Linked DNA regions of Homo sapiens: regions 2, 3, 4 and 5 are each linked to region 1. The links are contacts of gene promoters, found by promoter capture Hi-C in blood cells and fetal thymus (Javierre and others, 2016). All regions are on one chromosome and are shown on one strand. The core of a region is centred on a gene start or on the middle of the fragment in contact, and the rest is flanking DNA. Distances in the headings are between cores, read along the strand shown.

Evidence for each region. The method cuts DNA at HindIII sites, captures the fragments that hold promoters and counts their contacts. A CHiCAGO score of 5 or more calls a contact.
Region 2: a contact is called between the fragment with the promoter of ASB1 here and the fragment with the promoter of LRRFIP1 in region 1, in 5 of 17 cell types (activated CD4 T cells, total CD4 T cells, naive CD8 T cells and 2 more). The highest score is 8.6, in activated CD4 T cells.
Region 3: a fragment that was not itself captured here is called in contact with the fragment with the promoter of LRRFIP1 in region 1 in 1 of 17 cell types (naive B cells); the score reaches 5.3 in naive B cells.
Region 4: a fragment that was not itself captured here is called in contact with the fragment with the promoter of LRRFIP1 in region 1 in 1 of 17 cell types (naive B cells); the score reaches 6.9 in naive B cells.
Region 5: the fragment with the promoter of ILKAP here is called in contact with the fragment with the promoter of LRRFIP1 in region 1 in 5 of 17 cell types (total B cells, naive CD4 T cells, non-activated CD4 T cells and 2 more); the score reaches 8.3 in total B cells.

What each region holds. Positions count from the first base shown.
Region 1 is chr2:237,624,501-237,629,637 of GRCh38, forward strand. LRRFIP1 (LRR binding FLII interacting protein 1) reads left to right here and starts at 3,087. Exons shown (of 24, transcript NM_001137550.2): 1 at 3,087-3,240. The coding sequence starts at 3,145. The HindIII fragment of the contact is 5,154 bases long and covers 1-4,072 here.
Region 2 is chr2:238,423,779-238,429,025 of GRCh38, forward strand. ASB1 (ankyrin repeat and SOCS box containing 1) reads left to right here and starts at 3,149. Exons shown (of 5, transcript NM_001040445.3): 1 at 3,149-3,341. The coding sequence starts at 3,293. LOC124908002 (a long non-coding RNA gene) reads right to left here and starts at 3,116. Exons shown (of 2, transcript XR_007088163.1): 1 at 1-3,116. RefSeq lists enhancers at 1,730-2,265, 3,778-3,897 and silencers at 2,598-2,987, 3,008-3,527. The HindIII fragment of the contact is 6,850 bases long and covers 1-4,907 here.
Region 3 is chr2:238,243,034-238,248,166 of GRCh38, forward strand. It overlaps PER2 (period circadian regulator 2), which reads right to left. Exons shown (of 23, transcript NM_022817.3): 23 at 1,011-3,491. The coding sequence ends at 3,342. Among named protein-coding and RNA genes, the nearest start is that of HES6, 5.6 kb to the left of the region's middle. RefSeq lists enhancers at 3,115-4,314, 5,123-5,133. The HindIII fragment of the contact is 6,913 bases long and covers 1-5,133 here.
Region 4 is chr2:238,278,808-238,284,513 of GRCh38, forward strand. All of the region lies in intron 1 of PER2 (period circadian regulator 2), which reads right to left. Among named protein-coding and RNA genes, the nearest start is that of PER2, 6.9 kb to the right of the region's middle. RefSeq lists enhancers at 510-1,134, 3,449-3,949, 4,797-5,296. The HindIII fragment of the contact is 3,450 bases long and covers 2,526-5,706 here.
Region 5 is chr2:238,200,239-238,205,515 of GRCh38, forward strand. ILKAP (ILK associated serine/threonine phosphatase) reads right to left here and starts at 3,457. Exons shown (of 12, transcript NM_030768.3): 1 at 3,261-3,457. The coding sequence starts at 3,315. RefSeq lists enhancers at 2,444-2,503, 3,466-4,338 and silencers at 2,874-2,963, 3,084-3,653. The HindIII fragment of the contact is 5,343 bases long and covers 1-4,325 here.

The sequences.
Region 1 (5,137 bases), core at 1,837-4,336:
ATAGTTTCTCAATTTCCTGCTCTGAAGTAAGCCCTGGTGGGTAGTGTCACCATCTGGAATAGGAAAAGGGCTAGATGGGAGGGGTCAGTAGTGCTGGTGGCAGAGGCCAGTCTTCTCAGTGGAAACAGGCTCATGCACTTCCACGCAGGGAGGGCCGACGGTCAAGGGTGGAGGAAAAGCCACAATTTTTCGGTGAACCCATGGATCAGCATGATGGAGTCTTGCAGGTCTTTATCTTCCTCCAGGAGGCACCCCAAGCACGGAGAAGACCCACCAAGCTGCCTGATACCTCTGTCTAGCTCCCCTCTGCCCAGACAGGAACTGCTGTTCACCATTCATTCCAGACCTGGGCCTTTGAGGACAGGAGCTGTAAGGATGATTGATCGATTGCCTGTGTGTGAAGCCCTGGAAGGGCTCTTGCCTAGAATACTGTCCCTACCCTGACAAGGTAGAGGCCATGGTCTGGATGGCGGTGGCCCCCCCATTCATATGTCAAAACCTAACCCTCAATGCAAGGTGGGGCCTGCAGGTGACCAGGTCCTGAAGCAGAGACCTCATGAACGCGATGAGTGCCCTTACACAAAAGCCTGGAGGGAGCCCGTCTTCCACCATGAGATGACACACAGAAGGCACCATCTGTGAGGAATGGGCCTCAACCAGACACTGATTCTGCTGGAGGCTTGATGCTGGACTTCCCAGCCTCCACAGCTGTGAACAATACATTTCCGTGGTTTTATAAATGACCCTGTCTAAGGCGTTCTGTTACAGCAGCACAAAGGAACTAAGACAGTGGGCACCCGTATTTCCATTTAGAGGCGGAAACTGACTCTGAAGTGAGAACCGGTCCACTCTGAGAGCACATCGCCAGGGGAAGAGGACTGTAGCCAGGAAGTTGTTATGTCATGGGGTCATGGGAGGACCCAGCAATGTTGTTTCTGATGATTTCTGAAAGGCGGCTCTTTTCTGGAAGTGGACAGATGATGGGGGAGGGGCAGGAAGCTGAATTCACCACAGTGTCCGAGAACACTGTCTACCAGCGGGAGCTGTTCAGACACACCTCTGGCCAGTCCCCACGGCAGTGAATCTCCTGTCTCTGGACAACAATCCAACAGGGAAAGTGGGGAGGAGGGTTGGGAACTGAACTCTGTTCCACAAGTTCAACCACTGCACTCCACTAAGCAACTGGCACAGCCAGTCCCTGGTGAAGGCTTAAAGATGAGGAAGATGGGGTCAGCGCCTGCCCTCCTGGCCTCAACACATCAGGATGGAGGATTTAGGTGTTAGCAAAAAGTGGCTCAAAGTTCCAATGAAGGACAGGGAGCAAAGGGAGACTTCTTTTAGAAAGGAGACGTTGGAACTTGGATATGGCTTTAGTTAAGGAGCTCCAGGCATCTCAAGTCAGCCCTGAGAGGCAGCAGCCGTGTCTGCCTCTCGGACAGCTATGCCCCAGCCTCCAGCTCAGCAGCTGGCAGGCAGCAGGTGTGGGTGCAGGAATGAGTGAACTCATGGGGACCAGCCTCGGCAAAGACGCACAGTCCCCACAGTGCCCCAGGGGCTGGGAAACAGTGAGCAGCCACCAGCAAGACCAAGGCAGTGCAAGTGGCCACGGCTCAAGGTTTCCCCCAAGGAGGACTATGTCACTTAAGGAGTATGGCCTCTGAAGTAATGTAAATATGGCCTGGAAGATTCAGTCAACACCTATTTCCTTAGTGCCTACAATGTGCAGGTGCAGTTTCTGCTCCCGGAGTTCAGTCATGAACAATGCCACAGTCAGCCCTGCCAACCCACCTGCGTCAGCTCAGGCACCCAGAGCAATGTCACCTGGATCTGCCCTCCCTCCCATGTCACTGGACTCGCTGTCTTTTCCCTGCAATGAAACCTCCAACAGCTTTCCCTGCCACTGTGGGTGGAAGGGCCCTCTTCCTCTTCCCACCTTCATACAGCTTCCAGGCCACCTCCTTAAGAATCCAAAGCAATCTGGTCACACCACTTGGTGGGAAATACACCGAAATGTTAACTGTCCTTATCACTGGGGGAAAAAAATCACAGGTGACTTCAGTACAGCCTCCTCTCCTCTACCATCACTACCCTCCCTCCCATCCTTCCCCAGGTCCAGCCACACTGAAGTTCTCCCCATACCCCAAACACACCAGTAACTTTCCCACCCGGTGCTCCTGCCGTGCCCTAGGCAGGGGCTTTTAACCCCTACCTAATCCTCCGATTTGCTTTACTTTTAAATCCACCTCTGGAGCATAGACTGTGAGCTTCAGAGAGCACAGGTAAGTTCATTACTTTTTCAACAACTAGGAGAGAGCTGCGACGCACCTGCCCCGATCCTAGAGGCTGGGGACCCACCAGAGAAGTGACAAGTCCTTGATCTCAGGGGGCAGACAGCGGGGAGAAGGATGGATGCTAGCACGGAGAACACGCGTGTAAAGACAGAAACGCACACATCCACACCATGCCGCTGTGAAGCCGGCGCCCAGGAGGCTGGCCAAGGTCACAGGAGCGGCGGTGGCGGGCGGATCCGAGCACCTCTCGGCCTGACCCCAGAGCCTAGCTCTCACCCCGGCGAGGGACTTCCACCCCGACTCACCGCGGAATGGGGAGCGCCAGGCTGAACCAAATCCTGTGCTCACCCCTCCGTGCAAACCCCTCAAGGCAACTCAGGCCTCTGAAAGCCTTCCTACCCCCCCGCTCTCCGCTCAGGTCCCCACTCAACCGGTGCCCACCGCCCTGGCGCGCGTCGCTCCGCGATTACCGGCCCGCCAAACAGTCCCCGCAAAGTCCACCCTCCGGGGCTCCCGGTCCCTCAGGTCCCGCGTGCCCGGCCCTGGGCATCCGCAGCGTCCCCGTGGTATCGGACCCCCATCGTCCCTGACACCTGGCGTCTCCGCCCCCCGCCCCCGTCCCCCGCCCCGCCGTCCCTGGCCCCTGCAGTCCCTGGCCCGCGCTGCGGACCTCCGGCTCTGGCTTCCCCCGGGTCCCCGCGGCCCCCGTCCCCCCGCGTCCCCGCGTCCCCGGCCCAGCGCCCGCTGACGCCATGACGCCGCGGCGGAGGGAGGGGCCGGGGCCGGGGCCGGGCCGGGGCGGCGCGAGCGGCTGGAGCAACGGGCCCCGCGGCAGCTGCGGGCGACGCGGTCGATGGACATGGGCACCCAGGGATCGGGGCGCAAGCGGCTCCCCAACCGGGAGCGGCTCACGGCGGAGGACGACGCGCTCAACCAGATCGCGCGGGAGGTGAGCGCTCCGGGAGGGCAGCCGGGGGGCGCCGGGCGGGCGCGGGGGCCGGACGGCTGTCAGGGTCTCTCCGGCGTCCGTCTGTCCCGCTGTGCGTCTGTGCCACTGCGCGTCCGGCTCCAGGCGGGTGGGCCGGGCAGGCGCGCGCCGGGGCGCTGATCCCCAGGCGCTGCGCCCCGGCCCCGATCTCCGAGGCCTGCGGACCCCGCACCCGTTCTCCAGCCCCGGGCCCAGCCCGCGACGCTGCGCGCCCTCCCCCACCCCGGCCACCGTCGGCCGCTGCGCCCTCGGGAGAGGAGCCGGGCGCCGCCAGCGCGCGAGGTGGCCCGGGCTGGCCGGGTGGGGGCGAGCGCCCCGCTTTGTTGTGCGGCATGGGAGGAGGCGGGGGCTTAGGCCCGACCTGGAGGCAGTGGACGGTCGCCGGAGGCCACATGGCCCTGCTGAAATGGCCGAGTCGCTCAGGTGACCATTTGTCATCCATCCATCGATGTCACTCAAGGTGCAGCTCAGAGATGAACTTGGGGATCACTGTGATTTTTCTTTCAGGACTGAGCCTGGAAACGGGTCCAGGCACACTGAAACGTCTTCATTAAAGTTTCCTGGACAGAGTTTATTGTAACTAAGATCATGTTTGGTGATGAACTTTACCTGTGACAAATTGAAGGCGCACTAGAATGGGTATTTGTACAAATGCCTTTTTTTTTTTCCTTCCGCAAGGATTCTACCTTAAGGCTAAAGAATGTACATGACATCCAGAAAGCCGTACAGGGACAGAGAGCAGCAGCTTGGGAAAAGGGGAGCCAATAGGTTGCGGCCCCAGGGGGACAAAGGAAGCTTAATTTTTGACTGTGTTCCCTTTGTACCATTTGAACTGTGTGCCAGGTGGGTGTATGAATGCAAAGAAAGTCTCTGCCTTGTAACCCGCCTTACAGGTTCTTTTCCGTGTTGGCTTTTCCACATGTGATTCTTCCCACAGGAAACACCTCCAAGCCATTTGGACTGTGGTGTCTGGCTGTATCCGTCAGATATTCTGGGGGATCTACTCTGTAACCAATCCTTAGGTGTTTGTAGTTGTAAATACCTGATTTTGCTCTTACGGACATGTGGCAGTCACTCAGTATTTGTTGACTACTGAGTGAATAAAGACTTCTGTTTTTCTCTGTATGATACAGAAAAGGGCTTTCCAGGCAAACCCTTATTCATTCCTGGAAGCCCACTGTGACCTCCAGGAGACCTTCCAGACTCAGCCCTCTCACATCGCACCAGGCCTAAGTCTCCCTGGCTCCACGGCCCTCCATGGCATGCCCGCGCCTGGCATGGCAGTCAGGATACCTTATCATTATTTGTCCACCTGTAGAAGGTGACACCCAGACAGGAAATATCTTACTTTTGTATCCCAAGAGCTCAGCACAGAGCCAGGCACATACTAGGTGTTTGTCTATGTCTGTTACATTAATTAATAAACAAAAGAAGTACAAGGCATTTAAAGGACCTTTGGCTAAATATAGACATTTGCTAAATATAGTAGCTTGAGTATAACTCCCTCCTGTGAAGACAGTCACTTATGTATGCATTTGACCACAGTGCCTTACAAGTGTTCCCTGCAAGGGCCAGAGGTGGCCAGTGAATCGCAAGCCTTGTCTTGATGTCAGTGGTTATGGGGCAGAAGAATGAGAAGAATGAAAATTTCCAGAGTTTGCCTTTTATCCACTGGTGTTTCTTTCTTCTTTTTTTTTTTTTTTTTTTTTTTTAACACAGTCTCACTCTGTTGCCCAGGCTGGAGTACAGTGGTATGATCTCGGCTCACTGCAACCTCCACCTCCCAGGCTCAAGAGATCCTCCTGCCTCAGCCTCACCAGTAGCTGGGATTACAGGCACGCACCACCACACCCGGCTA
Region 2 (5,247 bases), core at 1,899-4,398, 800 kb after region 1:
GAAGGATGTGGATCTGCCTCCCTAGCTTGGGGCAGACACCCTGACTCTCTGCAGGTGGGCTCCAAGGCCTGAGACAGGGTCTGCGGGGCAGGGGCTGGTAAAGATGTTTCCAGGGCAAAGCCTGGAGGGTCAGCGGGCTGCCCTCATCTCGTGGCCTCACCTGGTAAACCTTCAGATCCCCTGCTTCCTTCAAAGCAGGAGATCCTTCAAAGGGGAAGAGAGGGCTGGGCCTCCTGGGAGGAGACACCCCAAACACAGGCCCACAGGGCCTAGGATCAGGAGAGATTCCCATTTCTGGTCCCTGCCTGGGTGACATCTGCTGCCCAATTCCCGGAGACAGCTGTGGGGGTTAAGCGACAGCAGCACCAGCACACCCAGGCCCAGCAGGATCCTCACCAGCCTGCAGCTGTGGAGCTCATGTTTCCAGCCCCCCATATACCTGCCATGCTTCCAGAGGGGCCCCCAGTTCCCTGCAACAGGAAGGATGAGGGATGGGGGCCCCTTCTCAGACCTCCTGAACCAGAAAGTCCATTGTTGGACATTTTTGTTATAAAATGATGGTAATGAGCACTACTGTAGCTGAATCTCCCCCACATCTGATTATTTCCCTAGAATGAATGCCTGGAAGAGGCATTTCTGATCAAGGATTATTCATTCTTATGCTTTAGCTAGACTGCCAAATTTTCCACCACAAAGACTGGGCTAGGCTCCACAGAGGGGTCACTGGGGACACTTTGGGGGAGGCCTGAGCCTCCAGGAGGCAACAGGAAGCGACGGGTGATTTTAGGGGTGGGAAAACGGGAGGGAGCCACTGGGACCTGGAGGGGCAAGACAGCCCACTGCACTGGTCCTGTTGCTGCTGTGCTGGGCTGGGATGGCACTGGTAGGCACTGGTAAATCCCTGTTGCTTGTAGGTGATGGGACCCAAGTTGCTTCATCTCTAGCGGTCACTGAGTGTCCCTGTGTTGGTGGGTCTTTTGGGCTCAGAGGACCTGGAAGAAGAGGGACTCTGGAGAGGTGAGGTCAGAGGGGGAGACAGGCTGTAGGGCTGGACAGTCTGGATGTGATCCCAACTCAGCCACCTGTGGGCTATGTGGTTTTGGGCATAGCACCAGGCCCCCAGATCTCAGGGTCCTGAGAAATGGGGGTGATGGTATTGGCAGAGTGGCCAGCAATTGAGTGTCCTTCCCCCTCCAGCACTGCTGGCTCTGTGGACACTGCCCTGCACCATGTGGGCATTTAGGAGGCACGGAGGTGGGCATGTGAGGCCACCTCCCCGCTACAGACCACGTGCGGCCTCAGGTTCTTCTAAGAGGCAGGATCCCAAGGGCAACACGTGGCAGGGAAGGTGGAGGTGCAGGTGCAGGAGGGCCACTCTGCTCAGGGACTCAATACCTTGATGCAAAGGCTACCGACACGCAGAACGCTCACTGTGAGCCCACCGGGACCAGGCAGGCAGAGCAGCGGAGGCCCCCGGAGACGTGGCTCTCACCAGGCTGCACTTTAGAATCACCTGGGTGCTCTGAACCACCCAACACCCAACCCGCACCCCTGACTGACTGCACCGGAACCTCTTTTAAAAAATTCTTTAAAACAATTGTGGTAAAATATATAGAACATAAAACTTAACCTGCTTTAAATGCGCAGTTCAGTACTGTTAATGCACAATTCACATTGCTGTGTGACCCGTCTCCAAAACTTTTTCATCTTCCTCAACTGAAGCTCTGTCCCCATGAAAAACTAACTCCTCATTCCCCACTCCCCCAGCCCTTGGCAACCCCCATTCCGCTCCACCATTTCACTGCTCCAGGGACCTCAAATAATTGGAATCACACAGTACTGTATTTGTCTTTTTGTGGCTGGCTTATCTCACTCAGCATAACGTCTTCAAGGTCATCCGTGTTGTGACGTGTGTCAGGATTCCCTTCCTTTCTAAGGCTGAGTACGAATCCATTGTATGGACGGACAGCATTTCCTTTCTAAGGCTGAGTACGATTCCATTGTATGGATGGACGGCATTTCGTTTATCCATTCATCCATCCAACAACACGTGAGGCGGCTTCAGGCTTCGGAGTTGCTGAAGCTCCGAGTTCGGGATGTGCAGCTGTGGTGGAGCCAGGGGCTGGGCACACCCCTGGCTCCTGGCCTGGCAGCGTCATCATCGGAGTCACCTGTCCCTCATGCCAGTGGTGCTCTCTGCTGTCATCAAGACCAAACACCACTGTAGGAAGTACCCCCACTCCCGCCTCCAACCCCCACAGGGCCTGCCAGGTCTGCCCCCAGTGGGCCCCCTGGTGCATCTGGGCCACCCAGGGCCAGCCTCAGCAGGGGCACTCGCGGGGCTGCGCCTGCGGCTTCCCTTACTCCAGTCTGGAATGTTGTACACACGGATGAGCCAGCAGCTCACGCCCACGACTGCTGGGGTCTCCGGACTCCCTCATCAGCCTCCTGCTGTGCTGTGTACAAATCCTCCTCCTGCATGAGGCCCCGCTGTCTAACTCAGCAGGGGAGAATGGGAGGAGCCAAGGGAATCCGTGCTTTAGGACCAACACCAATACTCATGGTGGGACGACGCTGCGATATTTGAAGTTGGGAGTGTGCAAGAAATGTTACTCGGTTGTTCACGAATGCATTCATTTATTCAATGAACTTCGCGTCAGCCACTGGCTGTCATCAGTTACCGACCTGATTGAGGGCTTCATGGAAGGGATTTGGAGGAGCATTCATCTAAAACCACAGCACGCTGCGACGCTCAGCCCTGCAGTGGGCCCTCACCAGTCCCCGCGCCTCCGAATCCACCCTCCCGGGGCTGCTCGTGGCTAGCGGGGGGCACCTGCGGGGACCAAGCCAGCCCGGCCGAGGCCCGGGTCCCGCCCGCCACGGCCCTCGGGGCCCCGCCCACATCTGGCAGAAGCCACGCCCCGTCCGTGTGGGTGGGGACGGCCCGCCGGACCGAAATTCCCAGACTGCTGCCTCAGGCAACGGGCTTTCCGACTCCTTGGCTTCTTATGTGAGGAAACCACAGCGCGGCCGGCATCCAGAGAGTCGGTTAGCCGCGAAGTTCCCGCCGGACGAAGGGACCAGCCAGCGCCCTGCTAGACAGCGAGGCCGGAAGCGGAGGCGTGGCCCCTGCGCGGCCCCGGAAACCAGTGAGGCCGGCGCGCGCCCGCCGGAAGCCGCGACCCCGACGCGCCCCCCATTGCCCTCGGCGCCGGAAGTGGTCGCGGGTCGTTCTGCTTCCTGCCCGAGGGGCGTGCGCGGGTCAGGGGCGGCCGCGGAGGCGGAAGCATCCATGGCGGAGGGCGGCAGCCCAGACGGGCGGGCAGGGCCGGGCTCCGCAGGTAACGTGCGCGCGGCCACTGGGCCGCGGGGCGTGTGGGGATGGCGAAGGGCTGGCTCCGGCGTCCCTGCCGAGGTCCTGCGTCCTCGTCCCGGGCTGGCCGGGTCCACGGGGCAGCCAGGGAGCCGCACCCTGCAGGCCGGGGGTGGGGTTCAGCGCGGCTCGCAGTGCTGGGCGACCCCACCACGGACGCGCTGCCCTCTCCTCGGCCTCGAGTGCAGTCCCCGCGCTAGATTTTCTTTCCGGTGGAACTTGCTCGTAACTTCCTTCCCGTTAGCCGATACAGATTTGATATGACCCAACCGCAAAAGTAGGACGTGGGCCACCTTCCAGCTCTGAGCGCACGGATCAGGAAAGCCAGCCAGAGGGTAGCCCTAGGGAGGGCAGGCACTTTTTCACCATTCTGCCGCCCACGGCGTGTCCGGTGGTACAGCGGGGGGCAGCCTTCCCACCCACCACAGGCACAGACCAGGGACAACGGGGACGCCGTCTCCAGCGAGCTCGTCAGTGACACAACATGTCCAGGGGCCTTTGGCCCACCAGCAAGGGAGGCAGATAGAAAGGCTCACACCCACCTTCCAAAATAACTGTCCTACTTAGGGTCTCCACCTTGCAGTGTCCCTACCATGCAGATGTGAAGGAAGCGGTCAGGACAGGTTCCCGTTTCCCGGTGGTGTGGTGGGAGTTCCTTCTTGCTGGATTTCTGAGCTTGCCATTCGCGCCAATAGTTTCGTGTGTTCTGGGCTTTCTTTACATGCCTATATTTGTCTTTGGAGGGGTTCCTCTCCTACTTAGTAATAAACCAATACATTTCTTAAACATCTTAAAAGATTGACTTGGAGACTGGTGCAGATAGGCTTTTCCATCCATCCCTCCCTCTGCACCTCCTTCCAATCATTTAACAGACTTGTATTGAAGACCTGCTGTTGGCTAGACCCAGCAGAGGATACTGCAGTGACCAGAAAAAGCCAGACAAAGCATCTACCATCCTGGGCTTTGGTTGGCGTTGACTTTGACTTCAGAGACAGCCAGGACCTTAGGGTCTAGGATGTCATCTCATGTGAGAGTGAGAGACGGAATGATGCGTGTTCCGTGGGAAAAAGAGGACCAACAGCTACTTCCCAGTATAAAGAGAGTTCCTGGGGAATAAACACTGGCTTTGTCGGCTGCACAGGTCTCCTTTTTTTTTGAGACGGAGTTTCGCTCTTGTTGCCCAGGGTGGAGTGCAGTGGCGTGATCTCGGCCCACTGCAGCCTCCGCCTCGGGGGTTCAAGCGATGCTCTGGCCTCAGCCTCCCTAGTAGCTGGGATTACAGGTGCTGGCATCATGCCCGGCTAATTTTTGTATTTTAGTAGAGACGGGGCTTCACCATATTGGCATATTGGCCAGGCTGATAGCGAACTCTAGACCTCAGGTGATCTGCCCGCCTCTGCCTCCCAAAGTGCTGGGATTACAGGCGGCAGCCACCACACTCAGCTGAGGGCTCCTTTTTATATCCTCATGCACTGCTGTTTTGTTATTCAGTGTGTTTCGGCCTCGGGTAGAGGGGCAACAGATTTTCAGTTGAAGCTTAAGTGCTATCCTGGGGCAGTTGTGTTGTCATTGGAGTAGTTGATCAGCGAAACACAAACTTGAAGTTGCTTTTGAATCTGGAGCTGGGGAAAGATTCTGAGTCTACTTTGAGCAGGGCCAGGAATGGATAGCACAGAGGCCAGCAGAGGGGGCCCAGAAGAGGGCTCAGCAAAAGTCCTGTGGCCGCCATTTACCTGTTGGTTATTGCCCTACACCTGAATCTTTCCCACTCCGACTTTGAACTTTTTCACTCTGTAGTAACCGCAACTGTGGAGTAATTACAGGGGAGGATAGTTACTGAAGGAAGACTGGGGTGGTGGCTTAAAGAGCTGTTC
Region 3 (5,133 bases), core at 1,499-3,998, 620 kb after region 1:
TAGCAGTGGGGGTGGCAGGCCATAAATCCCTGGGGGAACAAAGGCAGCTGCGGCCTGTAGACTGTCCAGGCCCCTTGTGGGCAATCTGCCCAGGAGACTCAGAGAATCTCCGTTTGGTTTGGAAATAAATCCCTTGGGGTTATATGGTAAATAAAAATACAATTAAGAGTCTTCCAAAAGCACTCAGGTTCAGTGAAACAACCATATCTGGCCATTTAGAGCAGTTTGCAGAGGCCTCTGTGCTCGCTAGGGAGGACTTTGCCTTTTATCCCATCAGCACTTGGCGTTAGGCAGCCAGGCTAGCAGGCAGAGGAGAGCCCCTCCCTTCTGCTCAGGGAGCTTCTCAGAGGCTGGGCATTGGGTTCAGGATCCATTCAGCTCTCTGCTCCCACCCCCAGGGTCATGGTTTGAAGAGTGGGAGGGATGGGGAGCAACTCTTCGGGCTTCCACAGTTTTGGCCTCACAAGGCTTCATTCATCACTGTGAAAGAAGGGCTGGGGTCAGGGGACTATGCCGCCCTGCCCATATCATTCGCAATGGAGACATGTGACCTTCCTGGTGGAGCCTCCTGACCGCCCCACCTTTAGCCCTACCTAGCCCGATGACCAGAAGACAGGCAGCCAGCCTGGAAAGGCCAGGTAACCCAGGGCAGGGATGCAGGGAAGACAGAGGTGCGTGGAGGCAGAGCTGGGGGCACTCTGGGGCTGAGCCAGACAGCTGCACCCCTCCAACTAAAAGTGAAAAGACTGTGGGGCATGACACGATTAGGTTTGCATTACGTGAGTTCACTCCTGCAGCCTGAAGGAGGGTGTGTGTGTGACACGCACAGGAAGAAAGGGAGCCAGCAAGAAGCAAACGCTATAAGGGAGCTGACCGCCAGGAGGCCTTTGGGATGTAAGATTCTTTAATGCAGAATTCCTGGAGTTCTTTAAAAAAATTTTTTTTAAATAATCTTTGCTCTCTATTCAGGTTTTCCTTTGTGCTATGTGAAAAATACATACAAGTAAAAATAAAAATATACTTGCTTTATTTACCAATTTTCTAAAAGGCAAACAGGTCATAAAAAGACACAAGCAGTCAAACAAATCTATTGCACTGGGTAAAGAAAGTTTGGTTTGCACACAAACAAACCACTTGTCCAGCAAGGCTCAACAAATCATCACAGAAACTCTGAGAGCTTATTTACATATCTCTTCGGGAATATATTAAAAAGAAGGCTCAGTTTAAAATAGAGAAAAACTGTTTAACACCTGTGTAAGCACACACACTAAAGAAAACATGACTTGATGCTTGGCATCACGTAAACAAATTCACAAGATGATCCTATTAAGTCAACTGCTTGGCACGCGCTGAAGCTACAGTTAACAATCAGTGAGCACATATTAAATGATAAAATAATGCTGATGGTAAACATTCATAACAGCAGAGTAAGATTTTGGCAGTTTTGTGTTTCGGTAACATAACTGTAACCTTAGATGAACACCTATCCCTTCATGATCTGACTTTAGAGGCAAGGAGTTTGTAACATCTAATGGCCATAAGAATGCAGACTGCTACCTTATCATAGGCATAGGCAGCTGATGTTACTTTGTAAATTAACGAAAAATTAAAGTGTTCTTGTGTTTATGAAGAATAGGTTTAATAGTCAGGCATAAGATGGTTTTACGATGAAAACCTAGTGGATTACAAAGAGATTTCACCTCCATCAAAAAACAGAAAACCCTGGTCCCAGTTGGGCGTGGTGGCTCACGCCTGTAATCCCAGCACTTTGGGAGGCCGAGGTGGGTGGATCGCTTGAGGTCAGGAGTTCGAGACCAGCCTGGCCAACATGGTGAAACCCTGTCTCTACTAAAAATACAAAAAATTAGCTGGGTGTGGTGGCAGTCGCCTGTGGTCCCAGCTACTCAGGAGGCTGAGGCAGGAGAATCGCTTGAACCTGGGAGGCAGAGGTTGCAGTGAGCCAAGATGGCGCCACTGCACTCCAGCCTGGGCAAAAAGAAACTCCATCTAAAAAAAAAAAAAAAAAAAAAAAAAAAAGAAAACCCTGGTCCCTTTTAAGCCTCATAGTCTTGGTCCAATTTTAAGTCAACTGTTCTTCAGTGATAACTTTGAATTTCCACCAGGGACCAATATTAAATTTTCTGAACCATCTTTGGAATATACAATGCAACATGAGGTTTTGTAAAAAGCCGGGCAGACTGGCCTCACTTTTCCCCAAGTGTCCAAATGACCTAAAAGTGCTGGGGACACTGGCAGAGGCCTGAAGCTGCTCCGAGAGAGGTCGGGCTCATGAAAAGAATGAGGGCTGTGCACCCAACCCAGGGTGCAGTGGGAGAGGTGAGCTCACTGCACCCCTGAAAATACAGATGCAGTCGCAAGCTGTCAGACTGAGTGGCAGTGGCTGCTCTCGGCCAGGAGATGTGATGTGGGCTTGGCTGGGTGGAAGCAGATGTCTGGGTGGTTCCAACGGAAGAAAACCAAACAGGACTGGGTCTCACATGTGTTGGTCACAGCCTGGTTTGCAAAGGGAAGTCACCATAAAGAGATGACTGATGACATATTTTAATCTCCATATTGGCCATCATGGTCTGAAAAGGAGACAAGAATAATGCAGAAATATACAGAGGGTCTGTCTGCGTGTGCATTCATCCGATGGAGTTGGCCACACAAACCACTAGGCTTCTTTAGTCCAGAGCAAATGTTTCAACTTTGTTCACTACAAACAAAACCTATGTCAGACTGAAATATTGACCACACCAGAAGCCAAAGCTGTTGGTTTGCCAAACAACGCTTCACACCATTTAATGTGAAACGTTTTGAAATAAAACTAGGAGAGGCTGCTATCTCCATTTGGTATGTATAAAAAAACACTCTACCTTGACTAAATGATAATTCAGATAAAAAGCAGTCCCCAAGAGAGGACAAAATTTGATCTGATCCAAACACCCTGGGAAAGCTCTGGAAGCCAGAGTCCCCAGCTGGTGCAGCAGACAGAGGTCTCGTCACAGTCACAGGACTTCTGGGAGCACTGAGGCAACTTCCCTGACACTAAGAGGCGCTTAGTCTTTCTCAAGTTAAATAACAACTAAAATCTCTTCCCCATCCCACAAAACTCCACATATATATTTTATATATAAAAACATATTTCTTTCCGAACTCTCCCCACTCTCCACAGTTTTAAGTCGCCCCTTCAGAAAACTATGTTGTTTTTTTTTCTAAAACAAAAAAAGCAACATGAGCATATGTGTCCATTTCAGTGGAAACAGCCATGAAGATCTTTCATCTCTTCCAAGCACCACCTGGTGTACCTCGCTGGCTGCCGGGCTGAGGTGGGGCAGGGGTTACGTCTGCTCTTCGATCCTGTGATTCAAGGGGGATCCATTTTCGTCTTCTTTGGTGTCCGACACTTCGCTGAGTCCCAGAGAAGGAATATCTTCCTCATATGGTATGCAAATATTACCTTTTTCCTTGTTTTCACAGTAAACACATTCCTTAAAAGAAAAAAAAAGAGAAATCAGTAACAAACTTGAGATCTGAGTTGTTACAAAAGTCATTCAAATTGGCCGGGCGCGGTGGCTCACGCCTGTAATCCCAGCACTTTGGGAGGCCGAGGCGGGCAGATCACGACGTCAGGAGATCGAGACCTTCCTGGCTAACACGGTGAAATCCCATCTCTACTAATAATACAAAAAATTAGCTGGGCGTGGTGGCAGGCACCTGTAGTCCCAGCTACTTGGGAGGCTGAGGCAGAAGAATCGCTTGAACCCTGGAGGCAGAGCTTGCAGTGAGCGGAGATCACGCTACTGTGCTCCAGCCTGGGCGACAGAGTGAGACTCTGTCTCAAAAGATAAAAAGTCATTCAAACTGAGTAAGGTGCAGGTGACCAGGTGTCAGCCAGGAGGTGGCTGGCAGCAAAGGCCAAAATCCCTGTCCCAGGAGCTGGCACTCTAGTAGCAGAGAGAGACAATAACTAAGAAGGGCTCCAGAGGCATAGGGTATATAGAGGACATCTGTGATTTTCAACTGGACATTCACAGCAGGCCAAAGAAAAGGTGACGCAATGATTTTGAAACGTGTCCACACTCTTTGCCACTCCTTCCTCAAAAGGTGGGGCCTAATTCCTTTCTCCTTAAACCTTGGCTGGACTTAGGCATTTGCCTCTAACAAAGAGTACCTGACTTCTGATTCTAGGTCCTAAAAGGCACCTTGGCTTCCTCTTTTCCTCTCTGGGGAAGTCACCTGCTACACTGTGAGGACATCCAGGCAGCCCTACGGAGAGGTCCCCATGGCAAGGAGCTGAGGCCTCTGCCAAGAGCCAGCAGTGTGTGAGAGGCCTGCAAGTGAGGCTCCTGGAAGCCGGTCCTCCAGCTGGCAGGTGACAGAAGCCCCCACCAGTATCTTACCGTCAACATCAGGAACGACCCTGAGCTAGAAGTACCCAGCTAAGCCGCTCTCAAATTCCTGACCCAAAGAGACCGTGCAAGGTAATACAAGTTCATTGTTGAAGTCACTAAGCGTTGGGGCCATCTGCCATGCAGCAGCAGATTACTAATGCAGCAGCGGGTGGAAAACAGACTCTAAGGCAGCCAGGGTGAGCCACGGGTCTATTTCAGGAAAAAGGATTCCAAGCAAAGGGCTGGGCATGTGCGAAGATCCTGTGGCAGGGGCCTGCCAGGGCAGTCGGGGAAACAGCCAAGGGGCCAGTGTAGCTGGAGAGGAGGGAAGGAGAGGAAAAATGGGAGATGAGGTAGAAGATGTGGATAGGTGGTCAGATGTGTATGGCTTTGCAACCATTTATTCTGATTGAGGTGGCACAGTGCTGGCAGGAATCTGAACTGTCACCGGAGGTGACACAGGGAGCAGTGAGTGCAGCTTCGAGGCCACTCTGACATCCAGGGTTCATGCCATGGAAGCATCCTCATGGCTTGGACCTGTGTGGTGATGGGCTTCATCTACCTTCAAGGTTAAACCCAGACAATCTGCCAACCCACCAGCTGGGGCCTGATAAGTAGAGCCCAGGATGCCTCCAGGGCTTGCAGGGTGCAGGTGGGGAAAAGAGGTGCAGACACTGAGCCCGAGGGTGGGCAGAAGAGGAAGAGCCTGTGGGGAGGCCAAGAGGTCAGAGGGACAGCC
Region 4 (5,706 bases), core at 3,001-5,500, 660 kb after region 1:
GCATGTACAAGTGGGATGGAGAGGGGCCAGGACAATGTGGCTTCACATTTACTGGGAATGGTTGGGAGCTGCTGAGGCACTCTGAGTGCCAGGCCCACGGAACTCAGCTTGCATTTGGACAGGCTTGCACTGCTGTGCTGGTCAGAAACTTAACCTCTGCACTTTGGGGTAGGTGGGTGGAGTGGCTGAAATTAGAGACAGACCAGCGATCATCCTGGACACAAACTGAGGGGGGGTGAACAGAGACAGGGAGTAGGGAGGGGTGGGACTGATTAGCAGGTGAGAGGCCAAAATGCCATCCCGGGTCCTCCCTTCTTCACCCAGTGATGTCTCCCCATCCCCAGGACAGCGTTTTCAGCAGAGTCCCAGCAGGAAGCAGGCACCCACTCAAGCGGGGCACTGGAGAGAGCCAGATGAAGGCCCTGCTTGACACAAGTGGTCATGCTTAATGAACACAGCTGTGAGGCTCTGGGGTGATGCTGCTGACTACAGACATGATGCTAAGCACCCAACACACAGCTTCCCAGCAACTCTGGATCACGGTCTACATGGTGCGCAGGAGATCGTTCTACGGAGCAGCCAACAGGGGTGGGTAGCTCACCCCAGGCCACACAGTAGCAGATGACAGCCCTGGATTCCAGGCCTGCCGGCATCTGAAGATGGGACCCCCACCCTACACCCAGGCTCAGCTGTGTGGGGGCCTCCTGCTTCCTGCCACTGCACTGTGCTCAGCCCCAACTCTGGCCCAGTGTGGCATTCCACTTCTGCATGGCATCCGTTTGGCCCTTCCCAGGGCAGCTGGAACAAAGGGAGAGAAGGGTTTCTGGATTCCACACCCCAAATCTTGTGAAACATCTTATGCTCCAGTTCCCATCTAGCTCTGGGAGAGCCTCCCCTTCCACCTCCTTCCCACCAGTACCCACGTGAAATGACCAAGGATCATACAATTGGTCGGGGGGAGGGATCATTTTCAGCAGCCCTAGAAGTCCCGAAGGGTCCCAATCATTTGCCACAAAGTGAAGGTGCGTCCGGCTGCTTGTCGCTGAGATGGAAGGAGCATGAAGAGTGCACTGGAGTCCAAATACCCCTGAGGAAGTGGCTAGTGCTGAGATCCCTGCTACCCCCGGCCATGGAAGGCCCAAGCCATGGCCAAGGCTGGACAGTCAAGAGCTCTACCACCAGGAAGATGCTTCGTGAGGAAGCTGTGGGAGAAGAACGGACACAGGAACAGAAATCCTGTGGGAAGGAGAGGTTCTCCTGGAGACGCTTCACCCACTGAACACCCCCAGGTGCCCTCCCCAACAGGGCAACTCTAAGAAAGGGCTAGAAACCAGCCAGCAATACTGAGGGCTACACATACAGGGTGCCGGATTCCAACAGCTGGCCCCAGGAACTGAATGGCTAAGCTCCAACAAGAGCCTTCAGCATCCCCTTCCCCAGGTCGAGCCCATTCGCCGGTGAGCCACTCCAGGACAGCCTGGTGAGAGGCGGGGCTCATGGAGAATCCACCCACATCAGTGTCTGGAGAACAGCAGGGCCGACTAGACCTCGCCTTGTTCACAAACTAATAAACAGAAGAAAGCCAACACGGGGCTGTGGAAAACACACACAGCAAAGACAACTGAACACAACCCTCATGCCACAGAGGAAGCAGCAAATTAAGACACCATCTACTTTTCATCCTAAGAATTCAAGAAATGATGGATTCAATGAAACAAGTAATGAGGGATGAGATAAGGCCACTGACTGAGATGAAAATGCCACATTAGAATGGAAAACTAGAAAGGACAAAGTTCAGAATCAATAAAAAGAAAATGGCTTCAGTGATAGGAGATGCGTGACAGACTTTTAAAATGCAAAGGGAAAGGAGAAGAGAAGAGAGATGGAGGACAGCCGGGTTTTACCTGTGGATTACAGCTCTTTCTGAAAGAGACGAGAACAATAAAACAGAAACCATAATGAGCGAGACACATAAAGAGAACCATCCTGAACCAGAGACAGATCTGAATCTGCCAATCAAAGGACAAGAGTCCAACGCCTAAGTGCATCCAGATGACAAACGGTATCTTCAAGGATAAAGAAAGTCCTACCAACATCCACAGAGAACAAACAAGTTACCCATAAAGGATGAAAAAAAAATCACACTAGTCTTGGATATCTCTTCAGCAATATTACATTTCCAGAAGACAATGTTTACACTTTTTTTTTTTTTTTTGAGAGGGAGTCTTGCTCTGTCACCAGGCTGGAGTGCAGTGGCGCAATCTCGGCTCATGGCAACCTCCGCCTCCTGGGTTCAAGCAATTCTCCTGCCTCAGCCTCCCAAGTAGCTGGGATTACAGGTGTCCGCCACCACGCCCAGCTAATTTTTGTATTTTTAGTAGAGATGGGGTTTCACCATGCTGGCCAGGATGGTCTTGATCTCTTGACCTCGTGATCTGCCCACCTCGGCCTCCCAAAGTGCTGGGATTACAGGCGTGAGCCACCAGGCCCGGCCGTCTACATATATTAATAGCTTTGAGAGGAAAAGCTTATGGTCAAAGGGAGGAAATCTCAATTACAGGATACTTGATTGTGGGTTACATAGCTGGTTTTATCAACATCCTGAGTCACATAAAACCCAAAATGCCAGCATCATTCCCCTTAAAGTCAGGAACAAAATAAGCAAATCTGTTATTCTAGTCTTTTTTCTTTATTTTACATTTAATGGCAGTTCTAGCAAATTCAATGAAAGATGAATGGTAATACCTTTTGGGAACAGAGAGACTAAGCAAGAAGACTGCCTAGGCCATTCCCACAAAGAGAGACACCAAAAGATTTGTGAACTTGTAGAAAGAGGCTCAACCTCATTAGCATCAGGAAAATGCAAAGGACGAGGTTATCTTGCCCATCAGGTTGCCAAAAATTAACAGGACTGATCACACTCAGCGTTGCTCAGGTGGAGAAGAGTGGCTCTTGTGTGTGGTGGTGTAGTAATAGGGTATTTCTGGAGAGAAATTTGAGTTCCCAGCAACATTTATAATCTGCATACTCTTCCCACCTCCAGGAATCCATTGCAGAGAAGTGCTTATTTATGTGCTCAGAGATGTGTGAGCACTGAATATAAAAACCTGGGAAGAACCATCAACAGGGAGGCTACGCATCCTGTCCACGATCATCCTGGCCAGGAGCCAGCCTCCAATTCCAGACTGGTCCCCTGCCTCCACCTGGCCCTGCTATGGTTAACACAGCATCTAGAGCGATCCTGGTGAAGGGGCTTAGCTTACGCCCGGCCCGTGCTCAGACCCTTGCTCAGAGCACAATTCTAGTGTGCACAAGGGCCAAAGGCTCTGCAAGTCTAGCTCCTGCAATCTCCTGGGCATGTCCTGTTAACTGCCCACCCCTCAGCCCCAGCCCTGTGTGCTCTGACCACAGAGACTCTGCACTTGCTGCTCCCTCGTGCCCACAGCCCTCTTCTTGCAGATGCCTGGGCAGCCTGCATGAACAGCACCGTCTCCCCACCAGCTCCTTCTCTGTGCCTCCACCGCCGCTCTGTGGGCTTTCCTCGCCAGCACTGAGGGGCTGGGCTGTTTACTGCCTGCCTCCCCTCTGGGACCTAAGCTCCATGGGGGCAGGGGTTTGCGTTGGTCAATGCTGGATCCCCAGGGCCTGGCACGTACTGTTGAAGACACAAACCTGGGACATCCATACTATGAATACTATACACCCACTAAAAGGATAGAGGCCAGAAAGACTGATGTGGGGAGAGTCTCAGACATAGATGAACAAGTCCAAGAACAATAAATAACAACAACAATAAAAAGGACAGATGGCACTCAGGCAGGGCCTGCCCGGTGCCAGCAGTTTCCCACTGACTGACTTGCCCTTATTCGCTTAGCACTGAGGGCTGGCACTGGGGCAGACAACAGAGCAGACATCTTTCCTGCCCTCAGGGAGCTTACATTAGGGGGAAACAGACAATAAACAAGAAACTAGAATATACAGTAGAGTAGGCAACTAGCAAGTGGGAATTGAGGGGCTGGGAGTGACATTTCAATGAGGGTGGCCCCAGGTGTAGGTGGCATTTGACAAGGACCTTGCGCACGAGCCCTCGTGTGTGAACTGACTCAGGGTCCCTGGGCTTCGCTCTCTCAGGCTTGCAGCCACGTGCTTCAGCAGGTCTTTCTGGCTTCACACCTGAGGCTGGCACTGGGCATCTCTGGCTCTGCCTGCCCTGTGTGGACTCGGATGACGTGCCACACCACTGTGGGGGCCCTTGCTGCTCCTCACTGTCCTGCCTGCTGCCAAAGGGTCTGATGAGGCAGCTGGATAGGAGGGAGAGCTCGCTTGCTGGACAGGAGGCAAGGAGGAGCTGGCAGAAAATGCCCCCTCCCTCTCTCCCTCAAATGGACCTTTCTGAAGTTGTCTTTCTTTCCTTCCTTCCTGTTTTGGCACAGCCTTTCTGAAGAGGTCCCAAGGGGGTGAGCACCCAGCTGGATGTCTCTGTAAGGCAGAGCCTCATCTCAGCAGGGTGTCGTCTTGTGTGTGCTTTCCAGACTTTTCTTCCTTACCTCCCTTTTCCTTTTCTACTGCTACCCTGGGACTGCAATTCCCAGTAAAGTGCTCACCTCAGACTCCATTCTCAAGAGAGCCTGAAGGCAGACCTGAAGAGAGTGGAGAGTGAGCTACCAGAGGAAGAACATTCTAGGCAGGGGGACAGCACACACAAAGGCCCTGCGGCAGGCAAGCACCTGACCTGTCTGAGGAAGGTGCACGAGGCTGGAGCAGAGCGGGCAGCGGTAGGAGGGCGGCAGCAAGGCCAGATCACGGAGTGCCTTGCGGGGGCAGTCAGAACTCCGATAGGGAACTGTGGAGAGTTCTGTGCAACAAGATCTCACTTACACTTCAATGGAGTTGCAGGGTTGAGGCAAGGTGGAAGCAAGGAGACCTCTCAGGGTGCTCTTGCCATGGTTCAGTGGAGCTGCCAAGGGGCCGCCCAGGGTACCAAGGGCATTCTCTCACTCCTGACCCCTCAACACCCTGGACACCACCCATCTCATCCCCACAGCCCTCCCCCAGATAAGCAGCTGGTCCTTTCTGCTCTGAGTGAGTCATTAAGGTGATCAGAGGCAGCAGCAGAGTGGTTAAGGGCACAGGTCCTGGGTGGCCTGGGTTTCAGCTGGGTTCCACCACCTCCTATGTGATCTCGGACAAGTTCCTTAACCTCCCTGAGCCTTGTGTCCTCATTTGTGAGATGGGGTAACAGTAGTTCCTGCCTCCTACTGGTTGTTAGAAGGATTAAATGACACAACCCATGCAAGATATCTGGAATGTAATATTAGCTTATCACTGCTAATCACTACAGAAAAACAGACGGCGGCTGGGCGCGGTGGCTCACACCTGTAATCCCAGCATTTTGGGAGGCTGAGGCGGTGGATCACCCGAGGTCAGGAGTTCGCAACCAGCCAGACCAATATGGTGAAACCCGTCTCTACTAAAAATACAAAAATTAGCCAGGCGTCATGGTGTGTGCCTGTAGTCCCAGCTACCTGGGAGGCTGAGACAGGAGAATTGCTTGAACCCAGGAGGTGGAGGCTGCAGTAAGCCAAGATTGCACCACTGCACTCCAACCTGGGCAACAGAGCAAGACTCTATCTCAAAAAAAAAAAAAAAAGAGAGAGAAAACGAAAAAGAAAAACAGATGGGCAACAAACGTAATTTTGGAAGAGA
Region 5 (5,277 bases), core at 2,207-4,706, 580 kb after region 1:
AAACTTGATTCATTCAGCAATTAAAACTTTTAAGGGCTTGGATGAAAACTACTAATTTAGCAAAATACCTGAAATATTTAGTGCATTCTATGTATTTTTCTAGATTATAAACATTTAAGAGGTTTAGGGGTGGGAACATTAGATGCAACGTTTAAAACAAAAATAAAAAGATCTAAACAAAATATTAATACATTTGATGTGATATAAGCAGTGTAGTATTCTCCCTTTGGACACTCAGTGCTTTCCCATAATTCATTTAAGACTGCGTTTTTCCACTTTTAAACAACTGTTAATGGCTCAGCCAGGCACAGTGGCTTACCACTGTAATCCCAGCACTCTGGGAGGGCCAAGGTGGGCAGAACACTTGAGCCCCAGGAGTTCGAGAGCAGCCTGGGCAACATGGCAAAGCCTTGTCTCTACAAAACATACAAAAATTAGCTGGCTGTGGTGGTGCGCACCTGTAGTCCCAGCTACCAAGGAGGCTGAGGTGGAAGAATCACCTGTGCCCACGGAGGTCGAGACTGCAGTGAGCTGTGTTTATGTCACTGCACTCCAGCCTGGGCGACACAATGAGGCTGTCTCAAAAATAATAACCCTGGCTAACATCTATAAAACACTATACATTCTACCCCACACTATGTGCAGCACCATACATACTGTACTAATTTGTACAGTAACAGTGGCAAGTGTCACCCCTTTTTACACATGTAGGAATAGCCACAGAAGGCACAGTTAGTAAGCGAAGAGCTGGATTCTAAACCAAGTAGTCTGGTTACACTTTCTGAACAACTTTTCTTGCGCTCTGGGAAAATAACGAGGTCTTTTATTGTTCACTGCATTAGAGATTTGTGGTACCCACATATCATGTGTGAGGGTCATGATGCACAGTTTAGACTCATTATTCCATTCACTTTAGCAATCAATATGATTTATTCAAAGTATGTTTTTTTTTTTTAAATCACAGTATTTTCACAAGTATGTGAAACCAGATTCTGTTCTTGTACAAACGATTTTAACCTGTCAAATCTCATCTTGTTGGTTGTAGCTAACAGCCTGCAATGATAACTATGGATCCCAATTGTCACTCATTTTAGTACTTATCCCTCTCAGCTTCCAATCATCTACAAATTCTGAGATCTTCTTCGTTTTAAAGCTATTTTTAAAAATACACTCAGCCAAGCAGGACCTGTTGACAATGTCAGTGCCCTCCTGGCAGATGGGGAGCAGCTGACCAATCCAATCTCAGGGTGGTCAGCAGTTTAAACACCATGCACCCCCTCTGCCACCCTTTCAGCTCAGTCAAGGTTGGAAACTGAGTTTGGAAAAAACGGCAACAGGATGTACCTTTCCCACTGTATCTGGCAAAAGGCTGCTAAGGTGCCAACCTATGAGATTCTGAGTTGCCAGGTTTTTTGTCAGTCAAGGGAGCCTGCTCCTGAGCAGAACCTAATTAATTGCAGGTAAAAAGCAATGGAGATTTTAAGACTCATAGGTTTACACGCACACTGGTGAATCCAAATGCTGTCCCAAATATATTCAGATAGAAATTATACTCCATTGACAAGAGAAAAAAGACTGCTACACAAATCCAATTTTTACCCACAGCTAAAACCGTGGTTATTTTGAAAATGAATGGCTGAGTCAAGTTCAAAGACTCCAGGACCAGTTACTGAGATGCTCTGTACCATCAGAACGGTCAGTGGGGGCAGGGCACGGTGGCTCACACCTGTAATCCCAGCAATTTGGGAGGCCGAGGCGGGCGGATCACCTGAGGTCAGGAGTTCAAGACCACCCTACCCAACATGGTGAAACCCCGTCTCTACTAAAAATATAAAAATTAGCCGGGTGTGGTGGTCGGCGCCTGTAATCTCAGCTAGTAGGGAGGCCTAGGCAGGAGAATTGTTTGAACCCGGAGGTTGCAGTGAGCTCAGATCTCACCATTGCACTCCAGCCTGGGCGACAAGAGTGAGACTCCGTCTCAAAAAGTAAAATAAAATAAAATGTTTTCTCGCCCAGAATTACTGCAAATCACAAGCCTGAACATCCTTGGAAGCTCAATTCAAACACTGCCTCCTTCCCCAGTCTCTCGGTGCCCGACAATCCCTCCTCAAGAGTCCTCAGCATTTCCCACAGTCATTAACTTTTGCCAGTTTTAATTACCGTAATTAGTACCCTTCAGAAAGCAGCTCTTAGAAAGCGAAGGCTGGGCCTTACTCACCTCCGTCTACCCTACAACAGCAGCTCCCAAACCACTGGTCTCCAGCCCCCGCTGGGTTGGCCTGGGGATTTAGTAACAGATTCGGAAACCCCACTCTCAGGGATTCGGATTTACTGGGGCTGAGGTGGGCCTGGAAATCTGAACGTCTTAAGTTTTCCAGGTTTTCTGCCCCCAAGTTAAATTTTGTAATAAGGCCCTAAACTACAACATCAAGCTGGAAGTCTTGCATATGAAATATTCACGCGTTTTGACAGATGAAACCCGGAGACTGTAACCCACAGGACGCAGGGATTAACACAGGCCCTGTTTCAAGCTGCTAGGATGCTGAGCTCAAACCACAGCCCACAGGGACTCCCACTGGCAGGGGCCAGCGCTTAGGAGATGAGCGGACCCCTTAACTTCAAGGAGAGGGGGAACTTCCCGTGGACCAGAAAAAAAAAAAAAAAACTACTGTTAATTATCACAAAATCACAGGATGACAGAGGAGGCATCCTGTCTTCCAGGCTTCAAAAACACGAAGGATTAAGATGGTGATTAATTCAATCTCCAGTGCAAATAAAAACGCCAAGCCCCTGAACTTGCACCGGCCCGGAACGCGGCCGTTCCACAGCCCGCGGGTGAAGTGCGGCCCGGAAGCCGCGGGCGGGCGACGCGCAAGGCAGCCCAGGCCGCGGGTGGAATCGGGGCGCGGGGGCCCGCGGTGCCGCCGGGCGTTCAGAGCCGGTCCCTCGGGTCGGCCCACGCGGTCGCGCCGGCGCCTTTCACCGCCACGCAGAGGGGCCGTGGCCACGACGGCTCGGCCCTTTCCTTCCTGCGTAGCGAAAATGGCGGAGCGGCCTCTCCGAGCTCCGCGAGCGACCGGGCCTCCGACAGGGCCGCCAGTGGGCCGGACGGGGCCTGGCCAGGCAGGAGCAGGCCCCGTGCAGCCCGCGCCGCCCGCCGCCTCCCAGCGCGGGCGCCGCCTCAGCCGCCCCGGGCCTCAGGCCGCCCCCATCCCGCCTGCTCTCCCTTCCCTGGCCGGCCCGGCGGCAACGCCGCTTACCGGCAGCCGGGCGCGGCGAGCGCTCGGGCTCCGGCAGGTCCCCGAAGAGGTCCATGGCGGAGGCTGGGTGGAGGCGGCAGCAGCGACAGACACTCAGCCCGCGAGCAGCGGCCGGGCTCCACACCCCGGGCGGGCGGCAGCAGCGGGCGGGCGACGGGCAGGGGCGGCCGGCGCCGTCAGTCACCTGCAGGGAGAGTCCCGGACGCCACCAATCGGCGCGCGGCGTGGCCCGGCCGCCCCAGAGGGCTGCGCGCGGGCTGGGCGGGGCGGCTGGGGGCGGGGCGGTGCGCATGCGCGTGGGCCCCTCCCGCGCCCCGACTGCGAGCCGGGCGGACGGCGCCGTCTGGGCCCCGCGGTGTTTCCCGCCTTGGCGAACCCCGGGCCCCTCCTGCTTTTCCTTGGCTGGGGGTGTCCGATTTCTGTCAAGTTTCGTTGAGTTCCTGTCCAAGAAGCCCTGTCCAGAGAGAAACGTCTGAGCTCAAGGGCAGCCCCTGATGCCTGGGAAGGCTTTCTGGAGCTCTTGCCATCTCTTCGGCTCGTCCTTTCACCACGGCGTGCCTGGTTTCTGGCCTGTTTTAGAGACTGAGAAACCGAGGCTTGGATGGAGCGGCCCTGGGCGTCAGGACGGAAACCTCAAAAGATGCCGGAGGGAAAGGAGGCATTCCCTGACTTGTCTGCACCCACTGGTGTCTGTGGGGAGCGGAGAAGAGGGGCTCCTCCTTAATGGTGTCCCCCTCCATGCCTGTAAAGAGAAAGGCGGCCACTGACATCGGGGAGCTGGCCTGGTTCTGCAGCCAGGACTTGGGGTTGGTCTGGCACAAACAGCTAGGCCTGGGTGTTCTCTTTGAATGTGAACAATTTCATAAAACACCAACATCAGGCCGTGATACAGATCAAGAGAAAAAAACAGACCACTGTGTAATCAAGTGTGAACACAGACAAAACAGGAACACTGTCCAAGCCACAAAAGTGACCACATTCCCCTCGTCTTGGCCAATAAGAGTGATTGCTGCTTCTTTACCATTACATGTTTAGCCTTTGTCTCGTCCTCCTGCCGTCTAGATAAGCTTCATCAAGATATCCAATCATGGAATCCTCCTCTTCCTGACATCCAATCCGGAGCAAAGGCCCGTTTCCATAAATGTTTCCCCAAATCAACTAACACAAACCCAAATCTTACACCTCCGTTCCAACATCGTTTACCCAAGTTCCCCAGGTTATGTGGTCTCCCTCCATGCAAAGAGTTTTCAGCCCAGTTCATTCTGGGGCAGATGTATTTCTGACGCTCTCTGGCTGTAGGACATGGAGGGAGCCCAACAAGGCTTCATGCCTCTCATCTGCGTGGCTTCTCACTAGCAACCGTTTGAGATATTCATGCTGCCTCCTCCATTACAGCAGAAACACTCAAGTAACAATGCTTGTAACCGTTAAAGAAAGAGGAAATAAATACAAAAAGCGGCTCAACATTAAAAGGTTTATTTCAGAGAATAAACCTGAGAGGGGATTCTGGCCAATTTCGATCAGGAGCGCTCTCTCTTACAGACTAAGCATTCTCTCTTACAGACTAAGGATATTTAAGGGTTTTGGAAGTGGGGGAACGTTTATTGCAGGGTTGGAATGTCTCTGGTCGGAGGGGAGGCTATTGGAGGAGAGGTTATTTCAGGGTTAGCATGTTTCTGGTTGAAGAGAGGTTTATCTTAGGGTTGGAATATTTCTGGTTATGCTGACATTAGCCGTTAGGCTGATGTTTTGGGGTAGGATTTAGGTGGTTTTTTAATCAAGGGGAACTTAGAAAGGTGGTGTTTGTCCAAGATGGCAATGCTCCTGCTCTATCAATCCAGTCTCTATAGTTATGAAAAGGACAAGGGGCAGCGCATTTTTTCTGGCTACTTCCTGCTGGGGGAGTGAGCAGAGAGTTCTTTGGTTTCAGATTGATTGTAGGAGTAACGCTGTCTGTAGATGTTTTTGGGTAATTGTCTGTGAGATGGCCATGATCCTGCTGGTTAAAAATCTTTGA